Linked DNA regions of Homo sapiens: regions 1, 2 and 3 are each linked to region 4. The links are contacts of gene promoters, found by promoter capture Hi-C in blood cells and fetal thymus (Javierre and others, 2016). All regions are on one chromosome and are shown on one strand. Each heading gives the region's core, a stretch centred on a gene start or on the middle of the fragment in contact. The rest is flanking DNA. Distances are from core to core; before and after follow the strand shown. Region 1 overlaps REXO5 (RNA exonuclease 5). Region 2 overlaps ACSM3 (acyl-CoA synthetase medium chain family member 3). Region 3 overlaps REXO5 (RNA exonuclease 5). Region 4 holds the start of LDAF1 (lipid droplet assembly factor 1).

Evidence for each region. Contacts are between HindIII fragments. The CHiCAGO score rates a contact against its expected background, and 5 or more counts as called.
Region 1: a fragment that was not itself captured here is called in contact with the fragment with the promoter of LDAF1 in region 4 in 16 of 17 cell types (total CD8 T cells, naive CD4 T cells, naive CD8 T cells and 13 more); the score reaches 11.5 in total CD8 T cells.
Region 2: a contact is called between a fragment that was not itself captured here and the fragment with the promoter of LDAF1 in region 4, in 1 of 17 cell types (endothelial precursors). The highest score is 6.5, in endothelial precursors.
Region 3: a contact is called between a fragment that was not itself captured here and the fragment with the promoter of LDAF1 in region 4, in 13 of 17 cell types (M1 macrophages, total CD4 T cells, megakaryocytes and 10 more). The highest score is 9.5, in M1 macrophages.

What each region holds. Positions count from the first base shown.
Region 1 is chr16:20,840,476-20,843,585 of GRCh38, forward strand. The region is part of intron 15 of REXO5 (RNA exonuclease 5); the gene reads left to right. Among named protein-coding and RNA genes, the nearest start is that of REXO5, 36 kb to the left of the region's middle. The HindIII fragment of the contact is 3,043 bases long and covers 88-3,110 here.
Region 2 is chr16:20,784,618-20,787,696 of GRCh38, forward strand. It overlaps ACSM3 (acyl-CoA synthetase medium chain family member 3), which reads left to right. Exons shown (of 14, transcript NM_005622.4): 8 at 367-490; 9 at 1,461-1,541. It also overlaps a transcript of ERI2 not described here. Among named protein-coding and RNA genes, the nearest start is that of ERI2, 20 kb to the right of the region's middle. The HindIII fragment of the contact is 2,075 bases long and covers 380-2,454 here.
Region 3 is chr16:20,823,623-20,826,636 of GRCh38, forward strand. REXO5 (RNA exonuclease 5) reads left to right here. Exons shown (of 20, transcript NM_030941.3): 7 at 817-905; 8 at 2,211-2,326. Among named protein-coding and RNA genes, the nearest start is that of REXO5, 19 kb to the left of the region's middle. The HindIII fragment of the contact is 4,344 bases long and covers 1-3,014 here.
Region 4 is chr16:21,156,986-21,159,932 of GRCh38, forward strand. LDAF1 (lipid droplet assembly factor 1) reads left to right here and starts at 1,689. Exons shown (of 5, transcript NM_001301771.2): 1 at 1,689-1,761. It also overlaps a transcript of DNAH3 not described here. RefSeq lists silencers at 1,569-1,698, 1,749-1,928 and enhancers at 2,186-2,686, 2,821-2,947. The HindIII fragment of the contact is 5,830 bases long and covers 1-2,947 here.

The DNA.
Region 1 (3,110 bases), core at 359-2,858, 320 kb before region 4:
CGGAAAATTCAGATTTCATTTTCTAGATTAGTGTTAGACATTCAGGTGACTGCTTGGGCCATGCAGATAGCAAATATTCGTAAAGTAAGCTTGATTGCTACCAACTGGAGTGTGAGACATACTCTAATGAGAGCAGTTGTTGACCCACAAGAATGTATACCCAGTATTGTGAGATCTTTTGTTGTGTGTGTTTAAAGAATTGAGAAATCTGGCTGGGCGCAGTGGCCTATACCTGTAATCCCAGCACTTTGGGAGTTTGAGGAGGGAGGATTGCTTGAGCCCAGGAGTTCAAGACCAGCCTGGGCTCAAGCAATGTGAGACCACATTGCTACAAACAATTTAAAAACAAGAATTAAGAAATCTGTCAGTTTTCATATGTTGGCTCCCATTTCTCAAATACCAGGCCATACGAAAAAATATGTCTGCTGGTTGAATATAACCTGTGGTCCTTATGATTGTACCTCAGCTTTAAATGATAAAATACTCTTTCAAAAAGAGAAGTAACTTTCATATCTTAGAAAGTTACTTCTTTTTTTACATTACAGAGTAGGCTCATGGCTTGCTTGGTTAAGATACAGGAGGAAGATTATGGGAGGGCTTTTGTTGTTATTGTTATCTCTTATCTCTTAGGGTAAGTTTTTGGTATTGTAGGTTTGTATTTACATAAAAGCCCTTTAAAGAGATTAGTTTTACTTTAACAAAAATAATACTTGCATATGGTTTTAAAAATTTATGTAGTTCAAAAGGACTTCACAAGTTATGTCTCCATCTTCACAGTCATAACAATACCATATCAATAGATAAAGTTTATATGTGAAGCAATAACATCATAAGCATATAGAGACATGGAAGAAATCATGAAAAGAAAAATGGAAACAGTGTAATGTAGGATGTTTGTAGAATGATATACAATAAAGGTAACAATGGAGGCCTCTAGGGGGAAGAATTAGGCAGCTAGCTAATGGGATTAGGGGAAGACTTCACTGTAAATATATTGTTCCTTTAGAATTCGGAACTAGGTAACTATTAAACTGGTGTATTACAATGTATGAAAGTGAAGTAAAAACACTTCTAAAGTGATCTAAGTGCAGGATCCTAGATATTTTAAAATGGCTGTCTCTAAATTTTTTAATTTAATTTTTATTTTATTTTTATTTTTGAGACAGAGGCCCAGGCTGCAGTGCAGTGGTGCCATCTTGGCTCACCACAGCCTCTGCCTCCCCAGTTCAAATGATTTCTCATGCCTCAGCCTCCCAAGTAGCTGAGACGACAGGTATGTGCCCCCACGCCTGGCTAATTTTTGTATTTTTAGTAGAGACTGGGTTTCACCATATTGGCCAGGCTGGTCGCGAACTCCTGACCTCAAGTGATCCACCTCCCAAAGTGCTGGGATTACAGGCATGAGCCACTGCACCCAGCTTCCAAATCTTTTATTAATGGCTTTTCTATGACTAAAAATAAAAATACAAAGATTGTCCCTGAGAAGATGGATTGGGGGATGAGAAGTGTATAGCAAGGGACTATAACATCTTCCTTTCTCTTGGCCCCTTTTTTTGGTTGCGGGGGTGGCGGGTAAAATACATATAAAATAAAATGTACCTTTTTAACCATTTTTAAGTGGCATTCAGTATGTTGATATTGTGCAGCTATCATCACCATCCATCTCTAGAACTTTTTCATCATCCCGAACTGAAATTTCCTATTAAGCAATAATTTCCTATTACCCCTCCCCCCAGCCCCTGGTAATCATTGTTTTACTTTCTGTCTTTATGAATTTGACTACTCTGTGTACGTACCTCACATAAGTGGAATCATACAATATTTGTCCTTTTGTGTCTGGTTTATTTCATTTAGCATGTCTTCAAGGTTCATTCATGTTGTAGCATGTATTAGAATTTCATTTTCAAGGCAAAATAATATTCCATTTCATGTATATACCACATTTTGTTTATCCATTTGTTGATGGACATTTGGGTTGTTTCTTGTTTCTACCCTTTGTTTTGTTTGTTTTTTTTTTTTTTGAGATAGGGTCTTGCTCACCCAGGCTGGAGTTCAGTGGCGTGATCACAACTAACTACAGCCTCAACCTCCTGGGCTCGAGCAATCCTCCCACCTCAGCCTCCTGCTGGGACCACAGGCATGCACGCCTGGCTAATTTTTTGTAAGACAGGGTCTCTCTATGTTGCCCAGGCTGATCTTGAACTCCTGGACTCAAGAGATCCACCCACCTTGGCCTCCCAAAGTTCTTGGATTACAGGCGTGAGCCACTGTGCCTGACCCTGGGTTGTTTCTACCTTTGACTATCATGAATAATGCTGCTATGAACATGGTTGTACACATATCTGTTCAAGTCCCTGCTTTCAGTTCTTCTGGGTGTATACCCAGAAGTGGAATTGATGGATCAAATAGTAATTCTATGTTTAATTTTTTGAGGAACCATTATACTGTTTTCCACAGTGGCTATACCATTTTACATTCCTACCAGCAAAGAACAAAGGTTCCAACTTATCTACATCTTCACTGACACTTGTTTTCTATTTTATTTAATAGTAGCCATCCTAATGGATGTGAAATGGTATCTCATTTGGGTTTGATTTGCGTTTCCCTAATGATTAGTGATGTTGAGTGTCGCAGGCAATTTGTACATCTTTTACAGCAAAGTCTATTCACTTGTTTGCCCTTTTTTTCTTATTTATTTTTTTCAGTTCCAGCTACTCTGCAGTGTTTGCCCATTTTTAAATCAGGTTGTTTGGCTTTTTTATTGTTGAATTGTAGGATTTCTCTGTACATTCTGGATATTAATCTTTTATTAGCTATGTGATTGCAACTATTTCTCCATTCTGTGGGTTGCTTTTTGACACTGCTGTTAGTGTCCTTTGATATACAAAAGGTTTTAATTTTTATGAAGTCTAATTTGTCTATTTTTAATTTTGTTGCCTGCCTTTGATGTCATATTCAAGAAACCATTGCCAAATCCAGTGTCATGAAACTTTTCTATGGGAAGGCTTTTATCTCCATATTGATGCTATGGCTCAGATAATCACAAAGATTTAGTTACTCCGAGTTAACAAACAGAAAAGCAGACCATTTGAAGATGTAGCCTATCCAGT
Region 2 (3,079 bases), core at 167-2,666, 370 kb before region 4:
AAAAATAAAAACAAAATAAAATAAAATGTTATTATGGGGTACCTTCCCTAAGAACAGAATGACCTTCTTTGTAATAAATTATACCTCCACCACAAAAAGGGGGGTAAAGAAAAACTAGTATTTGGGGTATTCTAGTATCATTCTATGATATTAGAATGATTTATCTTTTTAATATCTTTATTTTTAATTTGTGTAGGTACTTAGTAGTTGTATATGTTTATGGGGTAAAATGGTTTGTTTTGTGCTAGGGAGAGGAATTAAAAAGCGACTAAAACATTTTATATTGAAGTTCATAAGAAATAATCCTTAATCTTCACTTCTCTCCATTTTTCCTCCTAAATCTAACTTATCTGGTTTTCTGAGAAGCTATAAGTTTAAAAGCTTAAAGCACTGTGTGAGTGCTGGGGAACCAATTACCCCTGACGTGACTGAAAAATGGAGAAACAAGACGGGCCTGGATATCTACGAAGGATATGGACAGACTGAAACGGTACCTGACCTCACTGAAAAGACATAGCTGGATTCCATTTAGTCAGATGAATAAAAACCAAAGTGTCCACAGTCTCCTTATGATTATTTGAGGGATAGGAGTTGAGTGGTTAGAAAATGTTTAAAAAAACAATGCTTGCAAGAACCTAATTGCAAAAAAGCTCTGTTAACAGATAGTTGTTTAAATAGCCATTCATTGACAAACACCACTGTTAATGGATCAGAGTAAGGGCATTACAATATTTTTTTAAATGAAATAATACTGGATCTACTGAAAGAAAGAATTCCTCCCAGTGTGATAGGGAAGTATCTTATTTAGGGCTGCCTCAAAATGGAAAATGCTGAGATCCTTGCTGCCTGAAATATTAAGAGTTTGCTGGACAACTCCTTAGCAACCATACTCTAAAAAGGATTTTTTAAAGAGCTCATAGAGATAAGGAATAAGAAATTCTAGAGGAAATGAATGAAATAAGAACAAAAAATGAAATAAGAACAAAAAATGAAATAAGAAAAAAGAACAACAGTGGTTATTTTGTAGAAGAGGGAGGAGTAAGATGAAATAGATAAGGGAAAAGTTGAAAAAACTTTTCACAATGTGTCTTTATAATGCTTCAATTTATGAACCATGAGAATGTATCACCTGGTAAAAAATGAAAATATCAAAAATAAAAATCAAAAATTGAAAAATTCATTAACTAGAAATAGCATAACAAGTATGCTAATATAAATGCAAATGTTAATATACTCATGTTTTGATAAATATGGATATATGAGTAATTATTGTTATAACTATATTTTATACATATGCATGTATTTATATGTTATCACTACATTCCATGAGAGTATAGCATTCATTTTGAGCCTAGTTCATAGTAAGTTTTCAATAAATAATTTGTTGAATGAATGCATGATAGATGAATAAATTTTAAGTGACTTGTAATGTTATCTTACTTTTTCTTCTTCTTAACTAGGTGCTAATCTGTGGAAATTTTAAGGGAATGAAAATTAAACCTGGCTCAATGGGAAAACCTTCTCCTGCTTTCGATGTTAAGGTTTGCACATCCCCTTCCAGGAGAATGTTTAACAACCCAATCTGTACACTACCTACCTACCGCTTACCCCCATATAAACTTTCTTTGTTATGATGGTGATTCCATTTTACTTCCATGATACTTTAATTTTTATAAATATGTGAAAATGATTAGAAATGTTAGCTTCTTGGTCTCCATTATTTTGCAAATACCCATATTGTACCATACAGTTCTAAGCATTTAATAAACGTTAACCCATTAGGCTGGATGCAGTGGCTCACGCCTGTAATCCCAACACTTTGGGAGGCCAAGGCGGGAGCATCACTTGAGCCCAGGAGTTCAAGACCAGCCTGGGCAACAACGTGAGACTTTGTCTCTACAAAAAAATATAAAAAACTAGCCAGGCATGGTGGTACGTGCCTGTGGTCCCAGCTACTCAGAAGGCTGAGATGGGAGGATTGCTTGAGCCTGGGAGCTTGGGGCTGCAGTGAGCCATGATCACACCACTGCACTCTAACCTGGGCCACAGAGCAAGACCCTGTCTCTAAATAAATAAATATTAACCCATTGAATTTCCAGAAGAAACCCTATGAGAAGCATACTAATATTAGAACCATTTTACAAACAAGGCACAAAGAGGTAAAAGAACTCACCAGAAGTCACACAGCTAATAGCTGCTAGAGTTGGGATTCAATCCCAAGCAGTCTGGCTCCAATATCTGCACTCTTAACCACAACACAACACTGGTCCTCTCAGGCAAGGGAGGTCAAGACCTTCTGAGCGGGTCAACTAGGCCCGAAGAGGCTTCAGTTTACAGTGGCTGCAGCACTTTCCCTCTCTGCTCCCAAGCCTGCCTGGCCATTTCCAGCCTCTCTGTATCCACTGCCACTACTACCACCTGATGCCTAGGGGGAATTCCAGTTCCCCATCAGCAAGCTTTATATAGGGTTAAAATTGTTCTCAGATCAACCGAGCTTCAAAGCTGGGTGTAGCCAAAGGAACTTAACACTAATTTGGACACTCCTCAACTTATGATAGGGTTATGTCCCAAAATAATAAGTCATCATAAGTTGAAAACATCCTAAGTCACAAATGCATGGCTGACTGGGAGCTGTGACTTACTGTTGCTGCCCAGCATCTAGAGAGAAAGATGGTTTCAACTGAATGGTTATCTTTTTCACCCATTGTAAAGTTGGGAAATAGTAAGTTCGAACCATTTTAATTCAGAGACCCATCTGTACGTTAAGAGACAGCAAAAGCAGCAAAAATATGGATGAATTAACAGAGTACAGCTCTTAGATAAATGTTTCCCAAGCTTGTTTGATCATAAACATCATATGGATATCTGTTAAAAATACTAATTCTCAGGCCCCTGGAGAGACCAATTCAATAGATTTGGAGTGGAACTCTGAAATTTGAAATCTTGTGATTTTAACAAGCACCCCCCAAGTAGTTTTTAGGATCAAATAAGTTTGAGAGAGTTTAGATGAGCTTGATTGCTGCTGTAACTCTTTATAGAATAAACCAGATCCTGGGTCCTTTCTCTCACTTTAACCTTG
Region 3 (3,014 bases), core at 12-2,511, 330 kb before region 4:
TTAGTTGGAAATTTCACAGTACCGGGAATCAGAAATTGGTCAAAGGTTTGCATAGCCCCCTTTGTTCCGTGTCAAACAAGATTTAGATGTTACCTTTACTGCTCCAGCCTCTGCCTGAAGGTAGAAATCTTCAACAATTCAGATGCTTTTGGGTTTTTGAGCTAAATATGCATGGTTATGGACTCAGGGTTCACAAATAGAGGGAGTACCTTAAATCTATAGCTGAGCCTCTGTAGGAAATATGTGATTCCAGAAAATGCAGGCAAGGCTCTGAATAGGTGTTTCAGAGGAATCTCACAGGTTGAGTTGGGTGGAGGGACACATATGGTGAATGTTACTTAAACTTTCTTCCTACTATGAAATCCTTTTAGATCTCCATTATGGTGGAATCTCATTCCTATTTTCTCTTCCTGTATTTAGGAAAGAAAGATGCCACATACAGTTATTTGCATACTTTATTCATTCTTTCTTAGTGCTGACATGGAAAGCGCCTAATGACTTTGGGTTTAGCCATGATTTAGTTATCTCTTTTCTCATGAGGAGGAAAAATTGTTACTTGGTAACTGCCAGGAAGTTCAAGCCCCAGAATCTCCTCCTAACAGCAAGCCTACATTATTCTTTCAATATAAAAATGAGTAGATGGAGAAAAACTTGAGGACAGAGATTGTATCTTATTTAGTCATTGTATTTCAAGTGTCTAACATACCAACATATCTGACTAAAATATCTAGTATTGTAGTTTTACCTGCTTGAATCTAAGAGTGATGTTTACCATCTCTATTCTAAAGGCAAACATTTTCTTCCTTTTTCTCCTAGGTTTTCCTGATTGTGAAAACTTTTTACTTACCAAATGTAATGGTTCTATAGCAGACAATAGTCCTCTCTTTGGACTTGACTGTGAAATGGCACGTACTACTTTTAATTTTTCAATTGGAGTGTTGCAAGCTGAGGTCTAGTAGAAAATGATTTCTTGAGTCTAATGCACTAATGAACGAATACATTCATTTTTAGTATTCTGTTTTAATAGCTGAAAGTAGGTCCTTTTACTCACACTTTAGAAAACTTAGATCTGTATTCCAGGATAAAGAATAAATATCACATAAGTGGCTGGGTGCCGTGGCTCACACCTGTAATCCCAGCACTTTGGGAGGCTGAGGCGGGTGGATCATGAGGTCAGGAGATCAAGACCATCCTGGCCAACATGGTGAAACCCCATCTCTACTAAAAATACAAAAAATTAGCTGGGCATGGCAGCATGCACCTGTAGTCCCAGGTACTCGGGAGGCTGAGGCAGGAGAATCGCTTGAACCCAGTAGGCAGAGGTTGCAGTGAGCTGAGATAGCGCCACTGCACTCCAGCCTGGCGACAGAGTGAGACTCGATCTCAAAAAAAAAAAATCACGTTTTCCAACTAGTTACTATGTTTAATCAGGTCTTTGCATGTTGCTAGAAGTTGATTCCTTGTGTTTGAAGAAGTATTTTGTTGTTGCTGCCATGAGGACTTTGCCTTAATTGTTGGTTTGGCTTAGTTTTACACCTTGAAGATCAGAAATAGGATTTCCCTGCTTAAGTTCCCCTCGTGCTTTGCTTTATCTAATTGTAGTAAGCCTCTTTTCAAAGACAGTGCATCCCCTCTCAGTACTCAGGAAACAGTTTCTCAATTCTTAATAGAGTAACTAAGACCTAAAATTTGAGAATCTGACATATCAGGGTGTATATCCTGTCCTTGCCTGTTAGTGGCTATGTCGCCTTAGACAAATACCCCTAACCTATCAGCCTCGGCTTCTCCCTCTGTGAAGTGGGGGTAATAATAAAGCCTACCTCAAAAGGTAATTATGAGAGTGGCATATATAAAATTCTTAGTACAGCACTAGCTGATAATAGAATGGGCTTCATAAAAATTACCTATTAGTGGTATTTAGCATAATACTGGATATAGTACACACTCCATAAATGGTAGATACAATTATTAATATTATTTGCATTCATCTTCTTTGTGCAGACTACACTGTGTTGATCCTCTTAAGTGTAACATTCAGCAGCCTGCCCAGCTTTAATTTCACTCACACTAGATCCTCTAGAAAGCAAGTTTGTGCCATTGCTGCAGGGACCCTGGTAGATTACAGTAGATGGCAGTTGACATAGTGTAAATAGTAAGAAGAAGCAATAACTTCCACAGTTCAGCAGCCTGACTACATGTTGGTCTTTCAGTGCCTCACATCCAAGGGGAGAGAGCTAACACGCATCTCACTGGTTGCTGAAGGAGGCTGCTGTGTTATGGATGAACTGGTCAAACCTGAAAACAAGATTCTGGACTACCTCACCAGGTATTTTTCACCTTGCCTGCAGCTCTTCTAAGAGCTATCGGGCTAGAATGGAATAATACTTAAGAATGGCCCACAGCTTCAGTTTAGTTAGGTTTTATCTACTTAAATATTATCAAAGGTTAGGGCATCACATAGGTATATTTTAATGCTGAAATTGCACAATGTCAGTGTATAATGCTCTTGCCCTTCTTGATCTTCAATCTTCTTGTGACCTTAAGTCAGCAGAATATTATCTTCCTTGTTCCAGAATCTCCCAATTATAATCATTATCTACAACTGCCAAACAGCTAGAGCTTTGCTTTCTGATAAGACCTCATCTGAAAATCTGCAAGTCATCATTTGGCAGTCAAGTGATGTTAGAGCTTAATCTGCCTTGACCCCCAAAACACAAACAAATATTTTTCATAACAGAAATTTGAAGCTGAAAATGTTAGTCTACTTTTCCAAAGATTAGCATGTAATCTCAGAATGTACACACAGTGACTAGGCAAGAAGCCAGTGAAACATTACTGTTCCCATCCGTTGACGTGGCACCAGTAGATTCGTGATGACTTAGGGACAGAGAGGCAATGATAGTGATAAATACTGTCCTATTAGCAGACTTGACAATTAGATTCTTAGAGAACAGTCACGTGTGGCAAAGTTGTATGCACAAGCATGTTTGTCACAGTATTGCAAAAATGTGAGT
Region 4 (2,947 bases), core at 439-2,938:
AATCTAAGGAAACACACACACACACACACACACACACACAATCTTTTCCTGGGTGGGGAACCCAGCATTTTGCAGCTGAACAAAGTGCATGACGCCAGACAAGATTGGCTAAAACTTAAGAATTTAGGGATTCTTGTCTGTCCTATCCCCACCATTAGCTCTTCTTTCTGCTATTGTGGAATTACAGCAGGATTCTGTGGTTTATCATATCATTGTCGTGATCATCATCATAAATCATCATCCCAAGCAAATATTTTTGAGCCCCTACTCTGTGCCTCAATAGGTGCTAAGTTCTCGACAGCCACAGCCACACTATTGCACCAGTCCTCACTACAACCCTGTGATTGCTTCTTTTTTTTTTTTTTTTTTTTTGAGACAGGGTCTCACTCTGTTGCCCAGGCTGGAGTGCAGTGTCTTCACTGCAACTTCTACTTCCCAGGTTCAAGCGATACTTCTGCCTCAGCCTCCCGAGTAGCTGGGATTACAGGTGCGCACCACCATGCCTGGCTAGTTTTTATATTTTTAGTAGAGATGGGGTTTCACCATGTTGGCCAGGCTGGTCTGGAACTCCTGGCCTCAAGTGATCTGCCCACCTCAGCCTCCCAAAGTGCTGGGATTATAGGTGTGAGCCACCGCACCCTGCCAGCTTTTTGTTATCTAAAGACTTATTTTCCAGGTTGCTATGGCCACAGGCAAAGAGGAGAGGTCGGTCAACACAGGTCCCTGTCTGGAAAGTGGCTGAGAACTGTGCAACAGCAGACCAATGGTTGGGCTTATCCCTCTCTCTAATTTATGGTTGAAGCCATGGTTCAGAGAGGTTACTTAGTCACACAGTAAGTTGCCATCATGCTCTATAGCAGTGGTTCTCACCTCGGGACGATGGGGCCTTCCAGGGGACATTTGGCAATATTTTGAGACACAACTGGAGGTGGGGGGGGGCGGTTCTTGTAACTGGCATCTAATGGGTAGAGGCTAGGATATTGCTAAACATTCTACAATCCACAGCTCAGAAACAGAATTATTCCGCCCCAAATGTCAATAGCATACTATTCAGAAACCTTACTCTATAGGGCAGATTTGGGGCCAGGGGAAACAGGGGCTCCTGCTCCGACTTGGATCCATGCAAACCGAGGAATTTGGATTGATTTATCTTGTCTCTCTCAGCCTGGACTTTTTCATGTGTAAAATGGACATCCAATCCATCTGAAAGGATCTCACTGGCTTATGACATTCGCATTTGAGCAGTCATGGTTAAAAACTTCCAGCCAGGGTGATACTTCATCACGTGTGTGTCTTGAGCGCCAGAGACGTTCCAGAGCAGCTGGTTTTAGGCATACAGGAGGGGAAACCCTGACACCCTTGGAAAACTCATTCTCGGCTGCCAGTCTGCCTGTCTTGAAGGTGGTCTGAGCTTTCTCACTCCAAGCCAGTCGTGTGGGAAGGGACACTCTCTGAGCCTCAGTTTCCTCAGCTGTCAACCTCTCAGGGCTTGTTCTAGTGGCTCCGAAAGCCAGTGGGAGCGAGCGCGCTTTGCAAAGCCTTGGGCGCCGGGCCTTGGCGCGCCTTTGCCGGATCCTTCCGGCCACGGGCGGGGCGAGCCCAGAGGAGAAGAGCCGAGGGGCGGTGCCCGGGCCAGGGGGCGGAGGCAGGCGGCTCTGGCTCCCTCTCGGGACGCTCTTTCCTTCTTCCTCTTGTTCCTCCTCCTGCCTCTCTTCGCTTCGCCTGCAAACGCGGTGGGGGCTGCTCGGCGGTCAGGAGCAGGTGAGAGCTCGGAGCTTGGGGGTGGGGGTCCGGGTGCCCCGGGTGGCTAGACCCCTCTCGCCGGGCGGGGACAGAGGAGGAGCGCGGGGGCGACGGCGTGAGCGCGCTATCGGGGTCCCACGCCCGTAGCTTTCTGCCCCGGGGTTAGTGTAAGGGGCGTCTCCTGCTTATGAGTCGCCGGGACGGGGCTGGGAGCGCACGAGGAGACACGATTCCTCCCCACCCCTAAATGCACACTCACCCCGCCACCCCCCAACACACACACACATACACACACACACTACCACTAGATTAGGTAAAATGGTAGCTAGCACCACCACACCCCGAGACTGTGCCCCTTTCTGGGGAACCTGGGGAAGACGTCGAGGCAAACCTCCCTAGGATTATTGAAAACGGGCGCCTTCCTCACCACCCAGCCCCTCTTCTCCACCGAGGTCCCCTTCCCCATCGCTGCAGAGAGATCTGCAAGTATCAAAGGGGGCTTCTTTACCCCCAAATTAATAACTAAGTACTCGACTCCCCTCTGAGTTCCCATTATTCAGTCTCTGTGCCTTCTGGGACGCGGACCCCCTCTCCACCTGCATTTCACTCCCTTCCTCCTCTCCTTGGGTCTCCCTGGCTTTTGAACGCTGAAAGGCTGGGCCCGGATGGGGAGGGGCGGCCAGTGTGAGCTCGAGGCGCCCTGTAGCTCCCATCCCCCAACCAGAGATGTGACCCCTCCTCCCAGCTTGAACTTTCGAGGTAGCCGTTTTCCCCTGGAGGTTCGGGGGTGGGAGGGCCAGGAGATTTATTTGGAGCCTTGGAAGGGGAAAGGGTTAGCTGGTGTTGGCCTGGCCCAGTCCCCCAGGCGTGAAGAAGGCGGGGCACTCCTTGGCCGCGCCGGGTTCTCGCTTTCCCTTCTCGGGAGACAGCTCCGTGCCTGGGGAGGCCCCTCCGAGGAGTGAGTGACCAGGGGGTCTGGGAATTGGTGGCCAGGTAGACGCATTTGAAGGCTGTGGCCGATGGCATTCGCCCCACGCACTCTCTCATCGGACTCCCCAAACCGGTCTGGGTGGCACTTGAGGCTCCCAGGCCAAAGGAGACCTGTAAGGGGAACTCCGCTTGTTTCTGCTTGCTGCAGAGATGAGATTATGGGAACTGAGTGCTGGGAACATCCCAAGTTCAAGACCTACGCCAGAGGCAGCTT